Linked DNA regions of Homo sapiens: all the other regions are linked to region 2. Evidence: promoter capture Hi-C in human tissues and cell types (Jung and others, 2019). All regions are on one chromosome and are shown on one strand. The core of a region is centred on a gene start or on the middle of the fragment in contact, and the rest is flanking DNA. Distances in the headings are between cores, read along the strand shown. Region 1 holds the start of PLK5 (polo like kinase 5 (inactive)). Region 2 holds the start of MIDN (midnolin). Region 3 overlaps TCF3 (transcription factor 3).

Region 1 (2,765 bases), core at 266-2,765, 280 kb after region 2:
CAGTGAGCCAAGATCACACCACGGCACTCCAGCCCGGGTGACAGAGCAAGACTCTCTTTCAAAAAAACAAACAAACAAAAAAAAAAGCAAGGAACTGGCTTTCTGCCCCTGGAGGATTCCAGGGTGACAGTCGTGTGACAGCTCAGACACTCGGGCCCCGAGCAGCCCACCTTGCAGCCACCTCACCTGATTCTCATCAGCAGGGGACTTGGGCTCCCCAGCTGCAACCCGGTGGCCCCAGGCTGGCCAGGAATCTTCCGCCCTGGCCCTGGGACCAGAAACCCCGCAAAGGTGCCCGAGCTCAGCCCCGTCCAATGCACGGGGGCCCCATTCGTGACACCAGGTGGACACGTGACGGCTCAGAAGGTGTTTCCTGTCCCTAGTGGTGTGGCCGGGCCAGATTCCGAAATCTGGTCCCTGGAAAATTCCAGCCCCACGGAGCCTGGTAACCCCTCCCCATTCCTGGTGTTATGTAACATTTGGGGATTAATACCGCAGGCGTCCAGGGGCGGCTGCCGGGATTCAAACCCAGCGCTGCCCTTTCCTGGGCTGACTGAGCGACTTTGCGTCCCTGGGTCTCAATGTCTTGCCTGTACAATGGGGACAAGGCCCGTTTTTGTGTCCCAGGCTGGGTGGAAGGGTGAGGGAAGACCTCACCAGGAAAGGGGTGCACCTGAGTCTGGGGCAGGGCTTGGAGCAACCACCCCCACGATTCCGGGGGAGTCTCAAGCCCCCCACTGTCTTCCCACCCAGCTGTTCTCTGAGTTCTCTGAGGTTTCTGATGCTCTCTGAGGTCGCCATTTCAAGGACGTCCCCACCTGGCTGTCCGTGCAAACCCCAGCCAGGGTCCACCTGCTGCTCCACACAGCCCATCCCTTCTCCGGGCTGAAGCTCCCTCATATGGGACATCCACTACACTGTAGGACCCCAGCCCATGCGTCCCCAAGCCCCGGTCCTGCCTCCTGGGTCCCTGTCCCAGGCCTCACCGCCCTCCCCACCAGCCCCAGCATCACAAACGCTGGGCTTCTCTGCCGCTCCGAATTCTGCTGTGGCTCCCCAGTGCCCAGGGCCATCAAGCCCCAGGTTTTCATGTGGGCCCCAGGGACCCGCCAGCAGGGAGGACCCGAAATGGCACACATTCAGAACGTCGAGGCTCATACCTCAAGCGCACTGTGGGGGAGAAGCCCCCGGAAGCCCCCAACCCCCCACGCGCGAGAGAGCCTCAGTTTCCCGCTCGGTAAAGCGGGCGTATCAGCGGTTCCCAGCCAGCCCGGGTGTGCAGGGTCGGAGGAGCTCGCGGGCTGAGCGCGGCCCCTGGCGCCCGGTTGGCGTGCGGGACTCGGGCGCGCTCTGGTCCGTGGAACTTCCCCAGCCGCGGCGTCCCCGCCGCTCACGCGCCCCCCACTCCACGGCCGGGCACCTCCCGCCCCTCCCCGGGCTGGACCTGCGCCCGGGCTCCGCCCCCTCCCCGCCCCCGCGGCCAATAAAACGCTCCCCGGCGGCTCCTGCGCCCTCAGAGCGGCCCCGGAGCGGCCGCAGCGCGGTGGTCTCGGCCCGGCTGCGCCAGAGTCCGCGCGATGGAGCCCCGGCCGCGGCGGCGGCGCAGGAGTCGCCCCCTGGTCGCCGCCTTCCTGCGAGACCCGGGCTCGGGCCGCGTGTACAGGCGCGGGAAGCTGATCGGCAAGGTGGGAGGCCCGCGCCCCGAGTCCGCGACGGGGCCGGACCGGGCTGGGCTGGGGTCCCGGGGCGCGCGGGCGATCCTGCGCGGTCTACGCGGCGCGTCCCTGCGAGCGCGGGGTCTGGAGCGGGCGCGCGTCCGGAGCCGCGGGGCCTCCCGTGCGGGGTTTCGCATGGCGGGAACCGTGTTGAGCGCGCTGTGCGTCGTGTCCGTGGGTTGCGTGTCCGGGGTGTGGGCGTGCGGCTCGGCCTCGGGATGCGACGCTGTGTTGCCCCTGGGTGTGTGTGCGAGCCTGGCGAGGGTCTGAGTGTGCCGCGTCTGTGCCCGCTGCTTCCAAGTGTCTGGGTGCTGTGCGGTGTTCGTGTGTGTGTGTGTGTGTGTGTGTGTGTGTGTCTGGGTGTTGTGTTGCTTGTTCACCTGTTGTTTGTGCGTCATGCCTTTGTGTGTCCAGTCATTGTGTTGTGTGTCTGGGTGTTGTGTGTTCATGTGGTGTGCTTGTGTGTTTGTGTGTTCATATGTGGTGTGTCTAGGAGTTGTGTGTTCATGTGTTTGTATCTGTGTCTTTGTCCATGTGTTGTACTGTGTGTCCAGGTGTTGTGTGTTCATGTGTTTGTGTGTTCCTGTGCTGTGTCTGGGTATTGTGTTGTGTGTCCACACGTGGTGACTGTGTGTCCAGACATTGTATATTCATGTGTTTGTGTGTTGCTGCGTTGTGTATCTGGGTGTTGTGTTGTGTGTCCATGCATGGTGACTCTGTGTCTGGGCGTTGCGTGTTTGTGTGTCGTATTCAGGCGTGGTGTTGTGCATCCGGTGCTGTCTTCTGGTCCGTGGCCTCTATGCACCAGGCGTGGATGTGTCTGTGTCTGTGTCTCTGTGCCTTCTTGTGTGCATCATGTCTTGTGTGTCCAGGCGGGAGGGTGGGAGCTGTGTGTTGTTTTTTCCCCGGTGTGTGTGTGGAGAGACCTGGACGCGCCTGCGTCCCTGGCTGCCCTGTGCCTCTGTACGCGCTGCCAGCTTGCACACCCGTGCACACCTGCCCACTGATCTGCTGACCCCTCCCCACAGGGCGCCTTCAGCCGCTGCTACA
Region 2 (2,983 bases), core at 246-2,745:
CAAAGTGCCAGGATTACAGGCATGAGCCACCGCGCCCGGCCTTTTTTTTTTTTTTTTTTTTTTTTGAGACGGAATCTCGTTTTGTCGCTCAGGCTGGAGTGCCCTGGCACGATCTGGGTTTATTGTAACCTCCGCCTCCCGCGTTCAAGCGATTCTCCTGCCTCAGCCTCCTGAGTAGCTGGGACTACAGACACATGCCACCATGCCCAGCTAATTTTTGTATTTTTAGTAGAGACAGGGTTTCACCATGTTGGCCAGGCTGGTCTCAATCTCTTGACCTTGTGATCCGCCCGCCTCGGCCTCCCAAAGTGCTGGGATTACAGGCGTGAGCCACCGCGCCCGACCGCATCATCTTTTTTATGTGACAAACTCCTAGTCATTCCTCAAACCGCAGCCCCTGTGACCCCCTTCCAAGGGTTATCCCAGCCTCTCCCTCTCTGGCCTAGCCCTGACCCTTCGGGGCTGGGTGTGCCTGTCAAGGTGGGGGCCACGGCTGCCGGGAGCATGGGTGGCAGCCGGAAGGAGACCTGGGGAGGAGCGCAGCCCTGGGAGGGGCGCCCATGGCCAGGGTGGGGGTGGAGGTGGTCAGGCCAGATAAAGGGAGGGGCCAGATGAGTGGACAGGAGGTGCTCCCGTAGGAATGGGGTCCCCTTCTCTAAATAGAGGGGCAGGACGGGGCCCACCTCAACCAGGACCATCCTCAAAAAGCCGACGGGGAAGGGTGAGATGCACACCACATTCGTGTCTCATTGGCTGTGGCCTCAGTTTCTTCATCTGTAAAATGGGGTAATGCCCACCCCAAAGGCTGGGAACCAGTGCATGTCCTGCATTAATGGGGGGTGATGGCCCCAAAGTGATCCTGCCGCATCCCCTCACCACACTCCCACCCACCCTGGAGAAACTGAGGCTTGGAGAGGCCAGTTACCTCCCGGGGTCACAGCATAGCCGGCTGGTGACTGGCTGGGCACAAGGCAGGCCTGGCACTGGCTAATCGCTCCATAAATGCCCTCTGAGGTCACCATTGACAGATGCAGGAGGCCAGGGCTGGCCAGGGCACCCCCACTCTACGGCAGGTGACTCCAGCCTGTTTTCCTGGACGACAGCCGCTGACTCAGGCCCCTCTTCCCGTCCCCCCCACGCGGGCGCCCCCAGGCGGAAGCACCGGGCCTGGGGCGACAGGAAGGGGGCGGGGCAGCGAGTCGCGCTGTACACCCCAAAACCCTGTCCCGCTGACGATTCGGGGTGCATCTCAGCCCGCGGCGAGGCGGGCCGAGACCCTTGGCTCGGGGCATTCAAGGGGAGTCCCCCCATGAACTGCGCCAAGCCTGGGTCCCGGGTGGCCCAGCCGTCAAGGCGCCCCAGGGCCAGGGCCGGCAGGCAGGGGCGGGGGCCAGTCTGCGTCACCGCCCGCCCGGCCCCCCGCCCCCCTGCCCGCCCTAACTCCACCCCGAGGGAAGGCGGCGCGGATAAAGGCTGAGGGCCGCGCGCTTGGCCCAGACCGGCCCGGCCAGCGCGCATTCGGCCCCGGACGAAGGTACTCGCAGCACTTGGAGCGCAGAACCGGCCGCGCCCGGTGAGTGTGGAGGGGGGGGACCTGCGGGCCGAGGAAGGGTGCCCACTCTAGATGGCTCAGGATGCCCGCACTTTTCTTTGTTCTTGGGACAGGAGGGATCGGGGAGCCTCCGGTCCTGGGAAGCCCCCCGGGGTGCGGGGTGGGAGGGGCTCCGCGCAGCCAGCGCCGCCCTGGCCGGACCTCAGCCCCCGCCCCGCCCCCCGGGGCACTCCCCCTTCACCGCGGGTGACCTTGAACTGGTTGCCGTTCCGCCCTCCGTTGCCCAGCCACACGGTCCCAGTCTCCCGACTACAGTCTTTCGTTCCCGATCGGGGTTCCTCCCCCGCGCGCAGCCCAGTCGTCTTCCTCCCCTGCCAGGGGCAGCGCGGCGCCCCCTCCCCGGGACTCCGGGCGGCGCTCCCAGGCGGGCCCGGCAGAGGGCGCGCCCGAGCTGCTGACTCACCGCATCCCCGAGCGCGCGCGGGCGCAGCCGGGGACGCCGCGTCACGTCACGGCTCGAGCGGGCGCGCCTCGGGGAAACGGGTTCTGCCCGCGGCCGGCGGGTGGGCGCGCGGGGCCCCCGGCGGCAGCCACCCGGCCACGTCACCGAGGTGCGGGCGCCCCGCCCCGGCCACAACTCCGCCCCCACGCACCACGCCCTCCCCGGGGCCGCGGCCCTAGCCTCACCGTCGCCCGCCCGCCCCGGGACCCCGGCCACGAGGCGCGGACTTCGCGCTCCCGCTTCCGCTCGCGGCTTTTCCCGGACGAAGGCGGCGGGGTGGCCCCACGACTTCCTGCCCCTCCCGGCGCCGGGAACAATGGCCCGCGCCCCCTCCCGCTCCCGGCCGCTCCCTTGGGATCGCGAGGGGTACCAGACCCGTCTCCAGACCTGGGTCCCGCGCCCCCCGGGGCGCGCCCGCCCTTTGTTGCGGGCTCCGGGCGCTTATGAATGGCTGCGGGCGCGGGCGGGGCGGGGGCGGGCGCGGAGAGGCGCCAGCCCCGCCCCCGCTGCGCTCCCCTTGGTCGCCTGGGCGCTGGGGGCGGGGCGAGGGGGCGGGCCCGGCTGCCACGTGGGGCGGTGCCGCGGCGGCTCTCATAGGCCCGGGCTCGCGGCCGACTGGGCGCTCGGCGCGCGGCGATTGGCCGGCGCCCGGCCGGCGGAGTAAGTAGTGAATGGGAGGGGGCGGCGGCCCCGCCCCCTGGAACGTTGATACATTATAACTTTTTTTTCTTGTTACTTTCACCCCCAGATCCTCCGAGCGGCGGCGACGGCTGTTGCTAAGGGAGGGGACGCGCGAGGAAGCGCGACCCGGGCGGCAGACGGCACCCAGCGCCACCAGCCGAGCGGCGCCCCCTCCCCAGGACCCTTAACCGCGCCGCGTCCCGGTCGCGCCCGCCGCCCTTTGAAGGAGAAGCAAGTGCCGTCCCCAC
Region 3 (3,014 bases), core at 397-2,896, 390 kb after region 2:
TAAATACGTCAACAGAGAAACCGACAAACAGAACAGAGGGGGATGGCGCTGCTCTCAGCCTGACATTAAACAGATTAAAAATCTAAATATGGTTCAAAGGCCTCGCAGCTCCACATCCAACTATCCCTCAAGTACTCACAAAGAAGGACAAAAATAATCCATGTTTCAGCCTCGGCAGAGGAGCTCTGCGTCCTCCAAACAGTAGCTACCGTTTAAGCCAAAGCTGAGTTTTGGCACTGGAGATCTAGAAATCAAGAAAGGACCTCCAACTTGGAACTCAGAAACCTCTGAAGCAACCTGACCTGAAGAGGAAATTAGGAAAAAAAAAAAAAAAAAAAAAAAGGAACAAATGTCAGTAATATGAGAAAAACATGCATTATGGAAACCAATGGGATGGGGTTCACGGGGTGGAACCCTCAACACCACACTGATGGAACAGAAGAGGGCAGAAGTCAGCAAAAGGGGCCTGTGATCTGAAAGTCACCAAAAACTTTAGAAAGAGAAGAAATGCCGATAAAGAGGAAAATTGATCAATTGATCAATATCGATTTGCCAATGAAGCAGATTCTCCAGAAGAAAAATCAACGAGAGAGAGAAAATGCACAGGGCAGCCGAGTCAAGAACAAAGAAACCACCTAAAAGTTGGCGCATTGAGGACCGCGGCGCCCTCAGCCTCCCTGCGCAGGTGGAAAGACAGGCGCCTCCAAACGTTATCAAAGAGCCGAACGGGGCCAGGCGCAGAGGGTCAGGCCTGGAATCCCAGCACTTTTGGCACGGGTGGACAGACAGGCGCCTACAAACATTATCAAACAGCCAAATGAGGCCGGGCTCGGTGGCTCATGCCTGTAATCCCAGCACTTTGGGAGGCCGAGGCGGGAGGATCACCAGGTCAGGAGACCGAGACTGTCCTGGCTAACACGGTGAAACCCTGCCTCTACTAAAAATACAAAAAATTAGCGCAATGGTTACTAAACTCTCTAAGTTTCAGCTTCTTTACCAGTAAAATACGGTAATAATTACACCTATTTCGCTAACCTGTTAGAACTGAGAATTCCCAGTGAATAAGCCAAGCTTTGTGTCCAATGCACAGTGCTCAAGAAACACTGATGTAAGCAGTGGCTCACACCTGTAATCCCAGCACTTCGGGAGGCCGAGGCGGGCGGATCACAAGGTCAGGAGATGGAGACCATCCTGGCTAACAAGGTGAAACCCCGTCTCTACTAAAAATACAAAAACTTAGCCGGCACCTGTAGTCCCAGCTACTAGGGAGGCTAGGCAGGAGAATGGCGTGAACCTGGGAGGCGGAGCTTGCAGTGAGCTGAGATCACGCCACTGCACCCCAGCCTGGGTGACAGAGCATGACTCCGTCTCAAAAAAAAAAAAAAAGTGATGTAAATTGTTGTATTACTGATGTTGTTAAAAAGTTAATGAGGCGGCCAGGCGCGGTGGTTCACGCCTGTAATCCCAGCACTTTGGGAGGCCGAGGTGGGTGGATCACTGGAGGTCAGGAGTTTGAGACCAGCCTGGCCAACGTGGCGAAACCATGTCTCTACTAAAACTACAAAAAATTAGCCAGGCATGGTGGCAGGCACCTATATTCCCAGCTACTCAGGAGGCTGAAGCAGGAGAATCGTTTGAACTCAGGAGGCGGAGGCGGAGGCGGAGGTTGCAGTGAGCTGAGATCGTGCCACTGCACTCCAGCCTGGGCAACAAGAGCAAAACTCGGTCTCAAAAAAAAAAAAAAAGTTAATGAGGCAGCAATAAAAAGAAAAAAAAAAGATACAGCCAACAGCTTGGCTGGATCTCCAGGGAATTATGCTAACGTAACAGAATAAAAGCTAATCTCAGAAGGTTGCAAACTATAGGATTCCATTTACACAAAATACTCAAAGTGAAAAATTGGGCTGGGCACAGTGGCTCACACATGTAATCACAGCACTCTGGGAGGCTGAGGTAAGAGGATCACTTGAGCTCATGAATACAAGATCAGCCTGGAGAACACAGCAAGACCCCATCTAGACAATATTTTTTTATTCTTCAGACACGGTCTCCCTCTGTCCCCGAGGCCAGAGTGCAGTGGCGCAATCTCAGCTAACTGCAACCTCCGCCTCCCAGGTTCAAGTGCTTTTCGTGTCTCAGCCTCCCGAGTAGCTGGGATGACAGGCACGCACCACCACGCCCAGCTAATTTTTGTATTTTTAGCAGAGACGGGGTTTCGCCACGTTGACTAGGCTGGTCTTGAACTCCTGGCCTCATGTGATCCACACACCCTGGCTTCCCAAAATGCTGGGATTATAGGTGTGAGCCACCGCACCCAGCTGAAATTTTTCTTTTTTTTTAAACAGAGACAGGGTTTCTCCATGTTGCCCAGGCTGGTCTTGAACTCCTGGGCTCCGGCAATTCTCCCATCTCAACCTCCCAAAGTGCTGGGGATTACCAGTGTGAGCCGCTGACCCAGCCCTCTACAAAATACATATTTTTTTAATTAGGTGGTCGCAGCTGCTCACAAGGCTGAGGTGGGAGGATCAGTTGAGCCCAGAACTTCAAGGCTACAGTCAGTTATGATCACACCACTGCACTCCAGTCTGGACAACAGAGTGAGACCTGGTCCCTAAAAAAAAAAAATCGTACAGATGAAGAACAGATTGGTGATTCCTGGGCTTAAAGAAGGTGCATGTCTCAAAACTGCACAGAACTACACACACACACACACACACACACACACACACACACGCACGCGTACACACACGCACGCAGACACAGACGCAGACACGCACACACGCGCAGACGCACAGACACGCACGCGCAGACGCACACACACGTGCGCACACACGCACGCACACGCACAGACGCGCACACGCACAGACACACACCCGCACGCACACACAGACACACACACGTGCGTGTAAAGCCGGTGGAATCTGATCAGGATCTGTGGACGGCACCAATGTCGGCTTCCTAGGTCTGACGCAGCACCACGGGTGGGCGGGACGGTACCCCTGGGGGTGGCTAGG

Evidence for each region. Contacts are between HindIII fragments. The study calls those that stand out against the background at their distance.
Region 1: the fragment with the promoter of PLK5 here is called in contact with the fragment with the promoter of MIDN in region 2 in 1 of the 25 tissues and cell types used here (heart right ventricle).
Region 3: a fragment that was not itself captured here is called in contact with the fragment with the promoter of MIDN in region 2 in 1 of the 25 tissues and cell types used here (spleen).

What each region holds. Positions count from the first base shown.
Region 1 is chr19:1,522,562-1,525,326 of GRCh38, forward strand. It overlaps PLK5 (polo like kinase 5 (inactive)), which reads left to right and starts at 1,516. Exons shown (of 14, transcript NM_001243079.2): 1 at 1,516-1,685; 2 at 2,744-2,765. The HindIII fragment of the contact is 15,366 bases long and covers 1-2,765 here.
Region 2 is chr19:1,247,088-1,250,070 of GRCh38, forward strand. It overlaps MIDN (midnolin), which reads left to right and starts at 1,496. Exons shown (of 9, transcript NM_001388306.1): 1 at 1,496-1,573; 2 at 2,803-2,983. It overlaps LOC102723811 (a long non-coding RNA gene), which reads right to left and starts at 985. Exons shown (of 2, transcript XR_007067082.1): 1 at 926-985; 2 at 1-774. RefSeq lists silencers at 950-1,489, 1,580-2,039, 2,100-2,219, 2,250-2,719, 2,900-2,949 and 1 more and an enhancer at 1,573-2,106. The HindIII fragment of the contact is 34,576 bases long and covers 1-2,983 here.
Region 3 is chr19:1,639,433-1,642,446 of GRCh38, forward strand. The region is part of intron 3 of TCF3 (transcription factor 3); the gene reads right to left. Among named protein-coding and RNA genes, the nearest start is that of TCF3, 12 kb to the right of the region's middle. The HindIII fragment of the contact is 9,192 bases long and covers 1-3,014 here.